2 separate regions of the Homo sapiens genome follow, and region 1 is linked to region 2. Evidence: promoter capture Hi-C in 16 types of primary human blood cells and fetal thymus (Javierre and others, 2016). All regions are on one chromosome and are shown on one strand. The core of a region is centred on a gene start or on the middle of the fragment in contact, and the rest is flanking DNA. Distances in the headings are between cores, read along the strand shown.

Evidence for each region. Contacts are between HindIII fragments. The CHiCAGO score rates a contact against its expected background, and 5 or more counts as called.
Region 1: a fragment that was not itself captured here is called in contact with the fragment with the promoter of SPATA4 in region 2 in 1 of 17 cell types (total CD4 T cells); the score reaches 5.9 in total CD4 T cells.

The regions. Positions count from the first base shown.
Region 1 is chr4:173,321,264-173,328,904 of GRCh38, forward strand. It overlaps GALNT7 (polypeptide N-acetylgalactosaminyltransferase 7), which reads left to right. Exons shown (of 12, transcript NM_017423.3): 12 at 317-2,704. The coding sequence ends at 454. Among named protein-coding and RNA genes, the nearest start is that of HMGB2, 9.3 kb to the right of the region's middle. The HindIII fragment of the contact is 5,987 bases long and covers 2,035-7,641 here.
Region 2 is chr4:176,193,084-176,199,801 of GRCh38, forward strand. SPATA4 (spermatogenesis associated 4) reads right to left here and starts at 2,502. Exons shown (of 6, transcript NM_144644.4): 1 at 2,262-2,502; 2 at 370-499. The coding sequence starts at 2,479. The HindIII fragment of the contact is 1,203 bases long and covers 1,992-3,194 here.

The DNA of each region.
Region 1 (7,641 bases), core at 3,778-6,277, 2.9 Mb before region 2:
GGAATGTCATTAGCCAGGATAGGAACAAGAGACATAGATTTGGAGGGGCAGATAATGAATTTAGGTTTGTATACATTGAGTGTGAGATACCAGCAGTATATTGTGACTTAACAATGAAAGATCTTAGGACTTAGAAAACTGACAATCAAGAGAAATCCAGAAAACTGACAATCAAGAGAAATCCAAAGTCTGAGGTGTGGTTGAGAAGCTTTTCCATTTCCTTAAACTGTCTCCTCATGAAAGTCAAGTGATGATTTCTGATGTCAGTGATATCAAGGGTCCAAATTTGAAACTTTTTTCTTACTGTGTTTTCCAGAACCTGCACAGATTTACTCATATTCCTTCAGGAAAGTGTTTAGATCGCTCAGAGGTCCTGCATCAAGTATTCATCTCCAATTGTGACTCCAGTAAAACGACTCAAAAATGGGAAATGAATAACATCCATAGTGTTTAGAGAGAAAAAAATAAACCAATAACCTACCTACTGACAAGTAAATTTATACAGGACTGAAAACCGCCTGAAACCTGCTGCAACTATTGTTATTAACTCTGTATAGCTCCAAACCTGGAACCTCCTGATCAGTTTGAAGGACATTGATAAACTGTGATTTTACAATAACATTATCATCTGCAGTTACTGTTTACAAGACTGCTTTTACCTTAAACTTTGTAGATGTTTACATCTTTTTGTTGTGTTTTAAGATGATGTTGGTAATTTGTGCCTTTAGCTCTGTTTTATTAGACAGAGTTAAAGCATGTTGTCTTCTTTGGGATTACACTCAGGGGTCTGAAAGGCAGTTTGATTTTTATTTTTAACACACTTGAAAAAAGGTTGGAGTAGCCAGACTTTCATATATAACTTGGTGATTATCAACCTGTTGTGTCTTTATTTAATTTTACATCTTTTTGAAGCACTGCCACAGGTTATTAGCCAAGGTGGCCTTCCTTCACAGTCATGCTGCTTTTTTGAAAGGTGAATTTCAACACATTTAGTGCCTCTTTCATTTCTCAGTATATATTTCAAGAGCTTGTGATGAAATCTATAGGATGGTAATGATGGACTTGTCACCTGTATGGGGAATACTTTTACTACTCAGAAATGAATTTATGTGCTGCCATTTGCTATAAAGTTGAACTTTGTATGGCTTGAAAAAGAAATGACAATATGGAACATCCCAAGGCTGTCCCATAGGGTTGGAAGTTGTGTAGCATTCACTCCCTTACCTACTGGCATTCCCAGTGCCCTCTGTCCATACCTACTTCTAGGATTGCAAAGGAGTCTTCCAACTAGAGAAAAATTGTCCACTGACATTTGGGATTTACTTTTCTCCAATACCTGCCAATACAGAAAACTATTATCAGTTGTTATTGTTATCCCTTGAAAGCGAGGGTGACAAAAACAACAAAACACCGTTATAAACACATCAAAGGTTCATTCTGACTGAGGTAAGACTTTCCAAGCCCTTGTTAGATTAGGCCTTATAAAACTTGTGTGCATTATAACCTAAGCTGTGCAACCTGTGAAGCCAAGAGTGAACTGATGTTTCATTTATATTTTCATCCAAATGACATTATCTGCACGTTTTTAAAATTTAAAAACAAAGGACTATTTAAAAATACAGTTTATTAACAAACGTGAACTACTTTCTGTTACATTAGGTGTTCCCTAGTGTTTCTTAATTTCTTTTTAGAAAGTGTATTTTTATTAGTATTTTTCCGGTGAACAGAAGATTTGTTTGGATTTAAACATTTACTAAGACAGTACCTATTAGGAAAACCAAATATTGCAAATGGTCAATTCGATTTTAATTTCTCAAAAGATACTCTGTTATCCAGAAGATTAAAATGCCTACATTGAGTGCTTAAAAAAAAAAAAACAACTGTGATGATGTGAGCAGAATGGCAAGTAAGTTAAGCATTTTTGATCCTGTAATCATGGTATCATTACAATGAAAGGAATTCACAAACTACTGCCAGAGGAAGTTTGTTTTTTAATTTAAGAGGGAAATATAACCTATAAATTTGTTTCTTCCAAGCTTAGCTCTTAAATTTGGAGACTCAAAGTTAAACATCCTCAACAGAGTTTTATTTATAATTTTGAATTGTCAATTTGTATTTTGCTACTGATCTGTGATCAACCATTTTAACTTTCATCTCTAGGGATGTTTAACATTTATAATTGCAAAATAAACCAACTATAAAAAAAGAAACTAAGAGAGAATTGGTACTTTAATTACTTGTGTGTTTGCAAATAGGCTCCATTTTCCATGTTGAGTAGATTATAACCTTATTAACTATGCATAGGCCTAAGAAAGGTGGCAATGAACTGTGCATGTAAATTTTAAATGGGTACTTTGTGCAATTCGTTAAAAGAAGATACTCTATGAATATGATTCTATATATTGAAATCAGAAAACCTACCAAACAAAAACATCAGAAGCTGCTGCCATAATGACTATTTTCTACTGTAGGCTGCTTTGGAAATAATTCCCATATCCTTGCTTTGTAAGTTGGTAATATCACTATGCATTTCTACACATTTTATAAATTTGATTTATGCAGATTTTGATACACTGTATGTTTCTGTAGAAATTGTATAAATATTCAAAATTTTATTAGGATAAATTTGAGAAACTTACGTATATCTTAATTCTGGGTTGCTTGTTTTTTAGGTGACAAAAATAAAATATTGTATTTTAATTCATGGGTTTTTTTGGTGCTTGTAATCATTTCAAATCTAAACACTGCACATTTGAAAGAATTACTTGATTTTACTATTTACAAGACACACAATACCTAAAATATTATAGACCATAGTTATTAGTTGAGTATGTGCTTGACTGTTGCTTAGCATTCTGTTACACATGCTTAGAATACTCAGAGCTTATGTATCTGTTGGAAGGAAACAAAGGTTTATTTTTACCTGTTTGCCTATGTATACCAATTTTTTAAGTTTATACTTTTTTTAATTATAAAAAATTACCCCAGCAACATATATCCTTCTTGGCTGTATATAGAATTGCCTTCTTGGCTGTACTATAGAATTGCCTATTAGAAGCAAACATGCCTTCAAATCAAATTTGTTTACAACCTGACAGATCAGGTTAAGTGGAGAAAAATGAAGAGAAGGGAAGCCTACCACAATGAAATTAGAAATAGTCCATAGCACCTTGTACAAAACACATCTCAAGAGAAGATACGGTTGCTAACAGATTCAAGTAAGTGGCTGTATTGATTTGGGAAACTTTCTCTCAACTGACCTGTCTATTGTCATATCTCCCAATTCTTAGCTGCTGTAGAAGTAGGCTAAGAAATTTGAAAAAGTGACAGCACCAGACTAGAATAAATGGGAGTTTCTTTATTTCTTAAGTTTCTCATAGGGATCTTGGAATATATTTCATTTCTGGACATAATTGGGAAAAAAATCCATATATAATTCAATGGAAAACATGACAAGTACCTCACCAGAAAGCCAGATACCTAATAGGCCAATAGTTTAGGTACGTGAAAATTATTCCATGTGAAAGCACTTTAAGAAGTGTTGAGCATTATGAAACTGTGATGTGATAAGTGCATCTTGAAGAATATCTAAGATATTGTATCCTTCAAATTACCTTTAAATGAAATTTCTCTTGGGCTTTTGGTTTGAGCAAATAAACCACAGCTGTATTAAGAATTAACTAACCGAAACAAAACTAAATATTTGAATAGAAAATAGGGATGAATAGACTTCCACTTCCGGCTATAATTTTAAGTGGACTTATCTTGCTACCCCAAACAACAGTTAATGCTGGACAAAATATATGAAGCAACTGTTTTCAGGAATTGGATACTAGTCAAAGCAGACTGATATCTAAAAGAAAGGAAATACACAAGGTGAATCCCAGGTTCACCATGTCTGTCTCCATGGGAGGACATTCCCAACCATGGTGCAAGGAATGCGGCTCAGAATGGTGGTATTGCTGAACTGAGGAGGCGGAGTGGAGGTTTCCGGCTGCTGAAACAGCTAGAATCTACAATCCAGGTTATTGGAGGGGAAGTACGCTTGAGTGTCAGGAGAGCTATACAGGAATTTTTATACCACAGCCATTTGCAATAGCGAAAACCCTGGAAGCAACCTAAATGCCCATTGACAGGAGAAAGGATGAATTGTGATATAATCACACAATGGAATATTACAGAGATGAATATGAATAAACTAGTTGTTATAAACAAGTTTTAGGTGTACAGGATTGAATGAAAAAGGCACTTCCCAAAACACTTTATTCAGCACTTTTTATCAATCTCAAAAGTGACTAAAAGTAAACATACAGTATGTTAATACATTTATACATGATAGGTTAAATAACTTGTCCAAGTTCACAAATTTAGTACTGGGGTCAAGGACATAATCAAGTCCAGTACTCAATATCCCTCTAACTCTGTGGGATGAATATTTATTTGGTGCCAGGAAAAACTCTCCTAAAGAATGTATGTTTTCCACATAACTTCTTTAATTTTCCTCTCTACCTAGACTATCAAGAACCTCAGGGCTGGAACAGTGGCTCACACCTGTAATCGCAGCACTTTGGGAGGCCAAGGGGAGAGGACTGCTTGAGTCCAGGAGTTTAAGACCTGCCTGGGCAACATAGCCATGTGTGGTGGCACACATCTGTGGTCCCAGCTGCTTGAGAGGCTGAGGCAGAAGAATCGCTTGAGTCTGGAAGGTGAAGGCTGCAGTGAGCTAGAACTTTATCTAATACTCCATCGTAGTATCTGTATTAACCCATGTATATCGGCATATATACTTTTAGCTAATATTTATCGAGCATTTACTATTTCTTGCCACCAGGATAAGTGTCTTAAATGTATTACTTTACTTAATCCTCAAAAACATTCAAATTTTACAGATGAGGAAACCGAAATGTTACATGAGTTGTCTGATGTTACAAAACCAGTAAGAAAAACAGAGCCCTATTCAAATCCGTGATTCACTACCTTGCTTTTAATTTCTTTCATAACCTTGTTTTTTTCTTTGTATATTTTGTTCTTGTTTTTCTTTGTATAAGCCATTAATATTTTTTGGAAAAAATTTGGAGAATCAAAGAATTACACAAATATGAATGGATTATGGTATTTTACTATCTCTTATCTGCCCGAGGACAATGTCCAAGTTGATTGTCCTGCTTTTCTAATGAAAGACTAGATGATATAAAGGCCATTTCCAGTTCCAAAATTTAGTGCTACATAATGCTGAAAAGTTATTTTTCTTTCCTTTTAATGCGACAGTCTATTGCACTCCTGAGTTACTATTCTATAGATGTGGTAACACCTAGGATGAGGATCACCAGAAGTCTGCACTGTTAACTCTTGAAGAATAAAGGCCCAGGAGCACAATGAAGTTCAATTGAAACATTTTTATTTACCTTTGCTGCAGGGTAAGTTGAGTTTCCAATCAGGGCAAGAAGGGTTTCTGACCTATAAAAACAATGGTTAGCTGTAAGGCATATATAAACTTTTATTAACCTTGGACCTGACTCAAGTAAAAATTATTACACTTATATTTACTATTTAATTTATAGAAGTGGCAAACTGGTGACCTTTGGGCAGAATCTTACCTATAGACATGTTTTGACCCCAAAATTGGAATTCATTGCCAATACTGTATTTAAAATTCAGAATTCACGAGTTCTAGTTCCACTTGAAAATTTGAGAGATCTGGGAATCCTATATTCACATTTCCATCTAGCAACAGGACTGAGCTAAACAGTGGCTATCCCCTTTAACCTGGGTATTTGTATATTTACAAACATGCTTAGAACACTGTTTCTTGCATTAGAGACAAAGCAGTATACAAAAGTGAAAATTTTACTGCCCTCACAGAGCTTACTTTCAAAATGTTCTTCACTTCACCACATCCAGTCCTTTTCCCTGGCTAGTCTCTATAGGTCTTGGCATTTCCTAATGTCAATAAATACTCTGCCTTTCTCTAAAACTGTCAGTCTCCAACAGGAATCTCATGAAGAACTAATCCAAACATGGTGAGGTATGAAATTTCATTTTTAAAGGACTAGATCTTACACAGTGGCATAGCAGCTCCTTTAGCTTTCTTGATTTTATTCCCCAAGAAATAAAATCATTACTGCTTTGTAAAGCATTTTTAGTGATATATTTAGTAATAAAAAGCCAGGTTTAAGATAATGCTATTTTTCTACTATGTAAGACAACCTTATGATTTACAGTAAGTGAAACTGGTAAAAGGTAAAATACAAAAAAAGCATACTTTCCTCTATTGATCAAGTTTGCAGTGAGTGCTTTGTTTGATATATAAGAGAATTTAGGAAATTCTAACCCAGTGCCCTGCTTTTATAGATTAAAAGACCAAAAGTAGTGGCTGACATCGGGAAGGAAACGTGAGCCCCTACCTCAGTCCTTGCACCAAAATTAATTCCAGAAGGATCAAAGATGTAATCAAAAATTTAAAAAAAGAAACCAAAGGATAATTATTTTTATAGTCTTTTATGATCTTTGAGTGGGAAGGACCTCACTAGAAAAGTTTTAGTGAAAGAATTGCTAAATTTGCCTACATAAAGAAATCTCTGCATGAAAAAAGCATCATAAAGTCAAAAGGGTCATTTTCCTTAATATATAGTATTCCCAAAAACTATTAATAAAAAGACCAGTGAGAAAAGACCACAGGAAAGAATACAAATGGCTTTTTTTTTTTTTTTTTTTTTTTTGAGACAGAGTCTTGCTCTTGTCACCCAGGCTGGAGTGTAGTGGCGTGATCTCTACTCACTGCAAACCTCTGCCTCCCGGGTTCAAGCGATTCTCCTGCCTCAGCCTCCCAAGTGGCTGGGATTACAGGTGCCCATCACCACACCCGGCTAATGTTTTTGTATTTTTAGTAGAGACAGGGTTTCACCATGTTGGCCAGGCTGGTTTTGAACTCCTGACCTCAAGTGATCCGCCTGCTTCGGCCTCCTAAAGTGCTGGGATTACAGGCATGAGCCACTGCACTCAGCCCCACAAATGGCTGTTAAACATAAAAAAAAAATGAAACTCATAATAGAAAACATTTTATCTATATCAGAATAACAAAGACTAAGAAGTTTGAGAACTATTATGTTGCTGAGATGAGGAAACAGGCACTCCAAAACATTTCATTGCTATGGAGTGTCCACTCCATAGCGTAGTACAACTTCTATTGTTGAGAAGCAGTTTTGTTTAGCAGGCTCCATTAACAGCACCAGAGCAGTTTCTGGCATATATTAAGCACAGGTTTTAGCTAGTATAGTTAGCACATTTTTAAATGTGCATGTCTTTTGGCCCACCTACTTCACTTGTAGGTCTTTTTTCACATGTGACATCAAATGGTTTCGTTTTTTTCAGACCAAGTCTTGGTCTGTTGCCCAGGCTGGAGTGCGATGGCATGATCACAGCTCATTATAGCCTAGACATCCCAGGCTCAAGTGATCCACCTCAGCCTCCTAAATAGCCAGGACCACAGGCATGCACCACCATGCCCGGCTAATTTTTGTATTTTTGGTAGAAACAAGGTCTATGTTGACTAGACTAGTCTCAAACTCCTGGGCTCAAGTGAGCCTCCCACCTCACACTCCCAAAGTGCTGGGATTATAGGCGTGAGCCACCATACCCAGC
Region 2 (6,718 bases), core at 1,252-3,751:
AGTAGAAAGAAAATGTTTTTATCATAAGAACTTTTATAAAAATCTCCAAGTACTATGAATTCACTTTAATCTCCCTTTTATTTACCTATGAAGTAATTTTTGTGTTTAACACGTTAGTTATTAAAAGATAATATTCAGCAGGAAAACCAATCAGTATATATCATGCTAATGGAAATAATTATGCTCAGTTTCATAGGTGACTCATGACATAAACAGTTGGAATTTAATAAACTTTGTAATACACAGGAACAAGCTGCCAACTCAGTATCACACAGTCACACACATACACGTAGAGATCCAGGAAATTAGCATGGCACACTTTAAAACAAACATCTTAACAGTTAAAAGTGTAAATGACTGCTAACGTACCTTCTCCAACTGTGCCCAGTTATCCAACTTGACTTTTAAAGAGGTCCCGTTTTCAAAGGATGATAATTCAAGTTCCCAGGGGTAATATATACAGAATATTTCTGCAATTAGGAAGCCATTTGAAAAATCTCTGATCCGTGGCAATTAGGAAATGAAATAAAGTGTAGTTAATTATGCAGTTTGTATTATTTTATAATTAATACTAGTCTAATATTCCATACTAAAAGTATCTTGTAAAGTGAGTGTTGTTGGATCGTTGCTCTAAGGAGAACCTACTGTGGAATTTTGCTAAGATTATCTACGTTTCAAAGGCTTTGGTGTTCTTTTGATGAACCCAAACTGTTAATTTGTATTGAATCCGCATTTCAAGAAGATCCCCAGGTGATTCATATGCACTTTAAAATTTCAGAGGCATGGTTGTAAGTAATACTGAAGACAAATTAGTAAACTAGTCCCCCGCTTATCTGCAGTTTTGCTTTCTGCAGTTTCAGTTACCTTGGGTCAATCACAGTCGGAAAATATTAAATGGAAAATTCAAGAAATAATTTGTAACTTTTAAATTGTACTCTGTTCTGGGCAGTCTGATGAAACCTCCCTGCCTGCTCTGTGTTGCCTAGGATGTGAGTCCTCCCTTTGTCCAGAGTCTCCACGTTGTAGACATCAGTCACCTTTTAGTCATCAGATCAACTGTACAGTGTGGTGCGCTTGTGTGCAAAGTGCAAGAGCAGTGATGCTGGTGATTCAGATATGCCAGAGAGAAACCATAAAATTATTCCTTTAGGTGAAAAGATGAAAGTTCTTGACTTAATAGAAAGTTGTAAGAATGGTTACAATGGTAGGAATGAATCATATTCCTGAAATATGAAGAAAAAGAAATTCTTGATAGTTTCGGCATCACACCTCAAACTGAAAAACTTTCAGCCACAGTGTGTGATAAGTGCTTAGTTAAGATTTTTAAAAAGGCATTAAATTTGTGGATGGAAGACATAAACAGAAATGTGTTCTGACAGAGGGTTCTGTAGTATCCACAGTTGCCATCCACTGGGGATCTTGGAACCTATGCCTCTCTGATAAGGAGAGACTACTTTAAACCAGAGTTCTGCAAAAGATTCATTGCCTTTTTATAGAATTTAGTTTGCATTCCCAGAGCAAATATTAGCTGCCAGTTACATACAAAGTGCCTACAATTAAGCAGCAACTTTAAAAACTTGTTGGTAACTCTCAAACTAGATGCCATCTCCGACAAAGGGTAAACTGATCCTTACCAGTATTTTTTTTTTTTTTTTTTTTTTTTTTTTTTGAGACAGAGTCTTACCCTGCCACCTAGGCTGGAGTGCAGCGGCATAATCTCGACTCACAGCAACCTCCGCCTCCCGGGTTCAAGCATTCTCCTGCCTGCAGCCTCCCCAGTAGCTGGGATTACAGGCACCCGCCACCACACTGGGCTAATTTTTTGTATTTTTTAGTAGAGACGGGGTTTCACCGTGTTGGTCAGGCTGTTACTCAACTCCTGACCTCAGGTGATCCGCCTGCCTCGGCTCCCAAAATGCTGGGATTACAGGCATGAGCAACTGTGCCCGGCCGTCCTTACCAGTATTAATGCCCAATATCACTAAAGAAAAAGCTTTGACTATTTTAATATTTTTGTAGTCACCAAAGCATTCTATATTGTCCACAATTTAATGATTGGTTGATTAATTGAATAAACAAGATGTATCGTGGTATTTTGTTAAAGCCTTGTTCCCTAATAGTGTTTTCGTGTGTGTACGTGGGTGGGGGGGTCTTGATTTGAAACATAAGCCAGGCCAGGGTAGGCAATCTGAGGCCTGGCAGGCGGCGGAAAGCAGGCGGGGCGCCCACCGGGGGGGCCTAGGACTGGCTTACTCAAGCACCTGTTGATGTTCCTGGGGAAGAAGCTGAGATCCAGACCCTGAAGCCAACGCAGAACGGAACGAGACAAGCGGGAGCTCTTCGGCGCATGCGGATAGACCAGACACTTCTTAGGCCTCCCTCGGATGGGAGCTGCTAGCTGTGGCGAAAGTGACGGTGACTTGTCTAGGGCTGCCGCAGTCTGTGTCAAATACCCTTTTTCCTGGCCGGCGGCAGCCATGACGCTTTCTGGGTTGCTGCGGCAACAGCAGAAGGCGGGGCTGGGCCTTATTGCTGGCGGCGCGGTCTCGTGGGGCGGGGCGGAGTCTTATGGGGCGAGACCTCAGCGCCTGCGCAAGCGCCGCAGCAGCCGCCCGTACTTCCGCTTTACTCAGATTTTGGACCGCGGGGCCGGGTATCGAGGGAGGCAAAGCTGGGGTCCCAGTGGTGTGGCTGCGGTCTGGGGAGCGCTTTCAGTCTCAGATTTAGTTGGCCTCACTGTTAACCTATTTAGAGCTTTTTTTTTCTTATGTCATCGTTCATAAGTTTTGTATTTTAAATATTGTTGGTTTCTGCCCAGCCAAAGGCCTATTTTCAGTCGTCTAGTTTGAGGAGTGGTGTGAGAAGACTCCAGAGGCCAAGGACAGTTTTTGTTTGGGAATTGGAAGAGATGGGGGAAAAAAATCTTTGAAATGGAAATGAATGTCCACAAAATTTAACATAACTATTTCCTTAATTATTGCATTAAGTATTTGTAAACATTAATATTTGAAAACGATGTGTAGGTTAGATTTTCACACTTAATTAAAATCTCCTAGTAGGCATAATTCCTTCATTAATTCAACAAATATGTATTGAGTCCATATTATGTGCCACGCATTCATCTAGTCACTTGGGATCTATCTGAACACAATGAAAACAACTGCAAAGTTGGCATAGGCAATTATAAATATGTAAGCTTAATTATTAAAATCCATTAAAAATTTTTACAGCCACAGTTTTTTGTTTTTTGTTTTTTGTTTTTTGTTTTTTTTTGCTTGGCAGGGCACAGTGGGTCATGCCTGTAATCCCAGCACTTTGGGTGGTGGAGGCGGGAGGATCGTTTGAGCTCAGGAGTTCAAGACCAGCCTGGGCAACACAAGGTGGAGAGACTTTCGCTACAAAACAAACAAACAAACAAAATAGCTGGGTGTGGTGGTGCACACCTGTACTCTCAAGTACTCCAGATGCTGAGGTGGGAGGATTGCTTGAGCTCAGGAACTTGAGGCTGCAGAGAGCCAGGTGACAGGCCCTGTGGATACATACACATGGTAAAATATGGGATAGATCTTGATAATGATACTATGTAATATTTTTAATGTTTATTCATATACATGCTTATTAATAAAGTAAACCAGTGTATTCTGTATGTGGTTAAAAAAGAAAACCAAAACTGAAGCTATGTAAGTGTTTTCTGTTAGGCTAAAAAAGTTTTAATGAATGATTCATTCATTCTGTAAACCTTTTCTGAGGAACTATCCTGGAGTATGTGCTAGATCTTTACCATCCAATATGGTAGCCACTAGCCACATGTGGCTATTTAAACTTAAATTTAAATAAACTCAGTTCCACTGGCTACATTTTACCTGCTCAATAGCCATATGTAGCTAGTGGCTGCCATGTTGGGTAGGACAGACACAGCACTGTTCCATCACTACAGGAATTTCGATTGGACAGCTCTGTGCGGCAGATCATTTATAAGAGATTCAGAGATAGAAATATCAGTGAAAAGATTACATACACTGAAAAGCTCTGCCATGGTAAAAATATGTTAGCACCAGAAAGGAAGCAAATACTTTGGCCTGGGAGAGTGTAAGAAGTCCTCTCAAAAGAGATGACCATTAATTTGGATCTTAGAAGGTGGTATTTTAAGCTGATTTTTAAGATGAAAGCTTTGAATAGCCATTTCTACTGTGAAAGGAAATTAAATCTTGGGACCCCCCCCACCTCCCCCAAATCACTAAGCTAAAGGGAAAAGTCAAAGTGGGAACTGCTTAGGGCAAACCTGCCTCCTATTCTATTCAAAGTCACCGCTTAGCTCACTGAGCTAAATGCATACCTGATTGCCTACTCTGGAAAGGCTCATCAGAAACTCAACAGAATGCAACCATTTGTCTCCCATCTACCTATGACCTGGAAGCCCCCTCCCTGCTTGAGTTGTCCTGCCTTTGCTTCTAGTTGTCCCACCTTTTCCAGACCAAATCAATGTTCATCTTCCACATGTCGACTGAAGTCTCATGTCTCCCTAAAATGTATAAAACCAAACTGCCCTGACCACCTTGGGCACATGTCAGGACCTCCTAAGGCTGTGTCACGGGTGCTCATCCTCAACCTTGGCAAAATAAACTTTCTAAATTAACTGAGACCTGTCTCAGAGTTTCTGGGTTCACACTACCTTTTATTAGCTATATGACTTTGGGCAAGTTATTTAACATTTGTATTTGTAAAATATGGAAATAAATAGGATACACCACAGAGCTGTAGAGATTAAATAAGTGAAATCTATAAAGAGCCTAAAACAATGTGCAGCACGTAGTGCTCAGTAAGCATAGATGATTGCTTCAAAGGTGATCTTGGAAATTTATTTGGATGATGAAGGGGCAATCTCACACAGAGTGACTAATGGGAGCAATTGCATAGAAATATGAGGGGTTTTTTAAATGAGTTTTAGGAAAGAACAGAACCCATTAGGGTTAGAGAAAGTGTTTAGGCATTATCAACCAAAGAGACATTGTCAACCAAAGGTTTAGATGATAATGGCTAGAGAGGTAGGTTAGATCTATAGGTTAGGGTTTATTTGTTTTTGTTTTTGAGACAGAGTCATGCTGTTGCGCAGGCTGGAGTGCGGTGGCGTGCTCAGGGCTCACTGCAGCCTTGACCTCCTGGACTCAAGTGAACCTCCCACCCCAGCCTCTCATCTCAGCCTCCCAAGTAGCTGGGACTACAGGTGCAAACCACAATGATTGGTCAGTTTTTAAATTTTTTATAAAGACGGGTCTTGAACTTGTGGGCTTGAGGAATCAATCCTCCAGCCTTGGCCTTCCAAAGTGCAGCAATTACAGGCATGAGCCACCACGCCCAGCTAGATTGGGGCTTAATTGTAAACAGTTTTGCTAAAGAGTTGGAAATCTTCCTGTAATCAGTGTGCCAATTGTTAAGCAAATACATCCCTGTTAGAAACACTCCCTTCTCTGTTCTCAGTTCTGTGATGCCGGAGTTGGAACGCTGCGGCATTTTCTCCTTTGCTGGGTGGATGGTAAATTCTGCCAATATGGGGAGTGAGAGAGTGGCCAGGAGGTGGGGAGCAGGGATTTGCTATTTCTCTGCTTGCTGTTCAAGCCCCTGTGTAACCATGGCAACAAAGCTTCACCTGGCCGGGGCAATTGGTTCCAGTCTCCAGTATGGTTGGTTGGTTGGTTTGTTTGTTTAGCACTCCTGGTGCAAGTTTCATCATATTCTCTCCGAGGTTTTAGCAACCACCAAGAAGTGGCCCTCCTTGGAAGTCTGAGACCCAATTTTACTCTCGGACAGCTCATGTGAGCTCCTGAAGTATTAGCACCAGCTGTGTACGCCCCATCCTCAAGTCTAAGTCTTGAGGCTCTTAAGCCTCCAACTCTTACGTTCTTATAACTTCAACTTCTTCCCTGGGGGTGGTAATTGCTTCCTGAAGTGTCTAGCTCTGTGTTAATTTGATGGTCCCATTTTAGTTTTTCGGTTCTTCAACACCACCAGTTCCTTATAAAGCCGATGCAGGTTTGAACCACAGGATTTGGAACTGCACGGGCCCACTAATATGTGGATTTTCTTCCACCTCTGCCAACCCCAAGACAGCAGGACCAATCCCTCCTCTTCCTCCGTCTCCTCAGCCTACTCAGTGTGAAGACAAGGATGAAGACCTTTCTGACGATCCACTTCCACTTAATGAATAGTTAATATATTTTCGCTTCTTTATGATTTTCTTAATAACATTTTCTTTTCTCTAGCTTACTTTATTGTAAGAATACAGTACATAATATATATCACACAAAATATGTGTTAATTGATGTTTATGTTATTGGTAAGACTTCCAACAGTAGGCTATTAATAGTTATGTCTTTGGGGAGTCTACAGTTGGGTTTTCTACCATGCAGGACGTCGGTCCCCCTAATCTTAATGTTGTTCAAGGATCAGCTGTTAAAATTCTTGCTGTTGAATACCTGGAATTAGTTCTGTTTTCCTGATTGGATGCTGAATGACATATTGCTTGGTACCTGGAGTGAGGTTTTTCTCTACCACTAGCTCACCTGCATCTTTCTAAAGTATCTAAGGAACTTGCTTCTTCCTGTTCATGAGGTCGACTCAGCAGGATATCATCAATATAGTGGACTAGTGTGATGTTCTATGACATGTTAAGACACTCAAAAATCTCTGCCAATCTTGTGGCAAAGAGCAAGAAAATTGA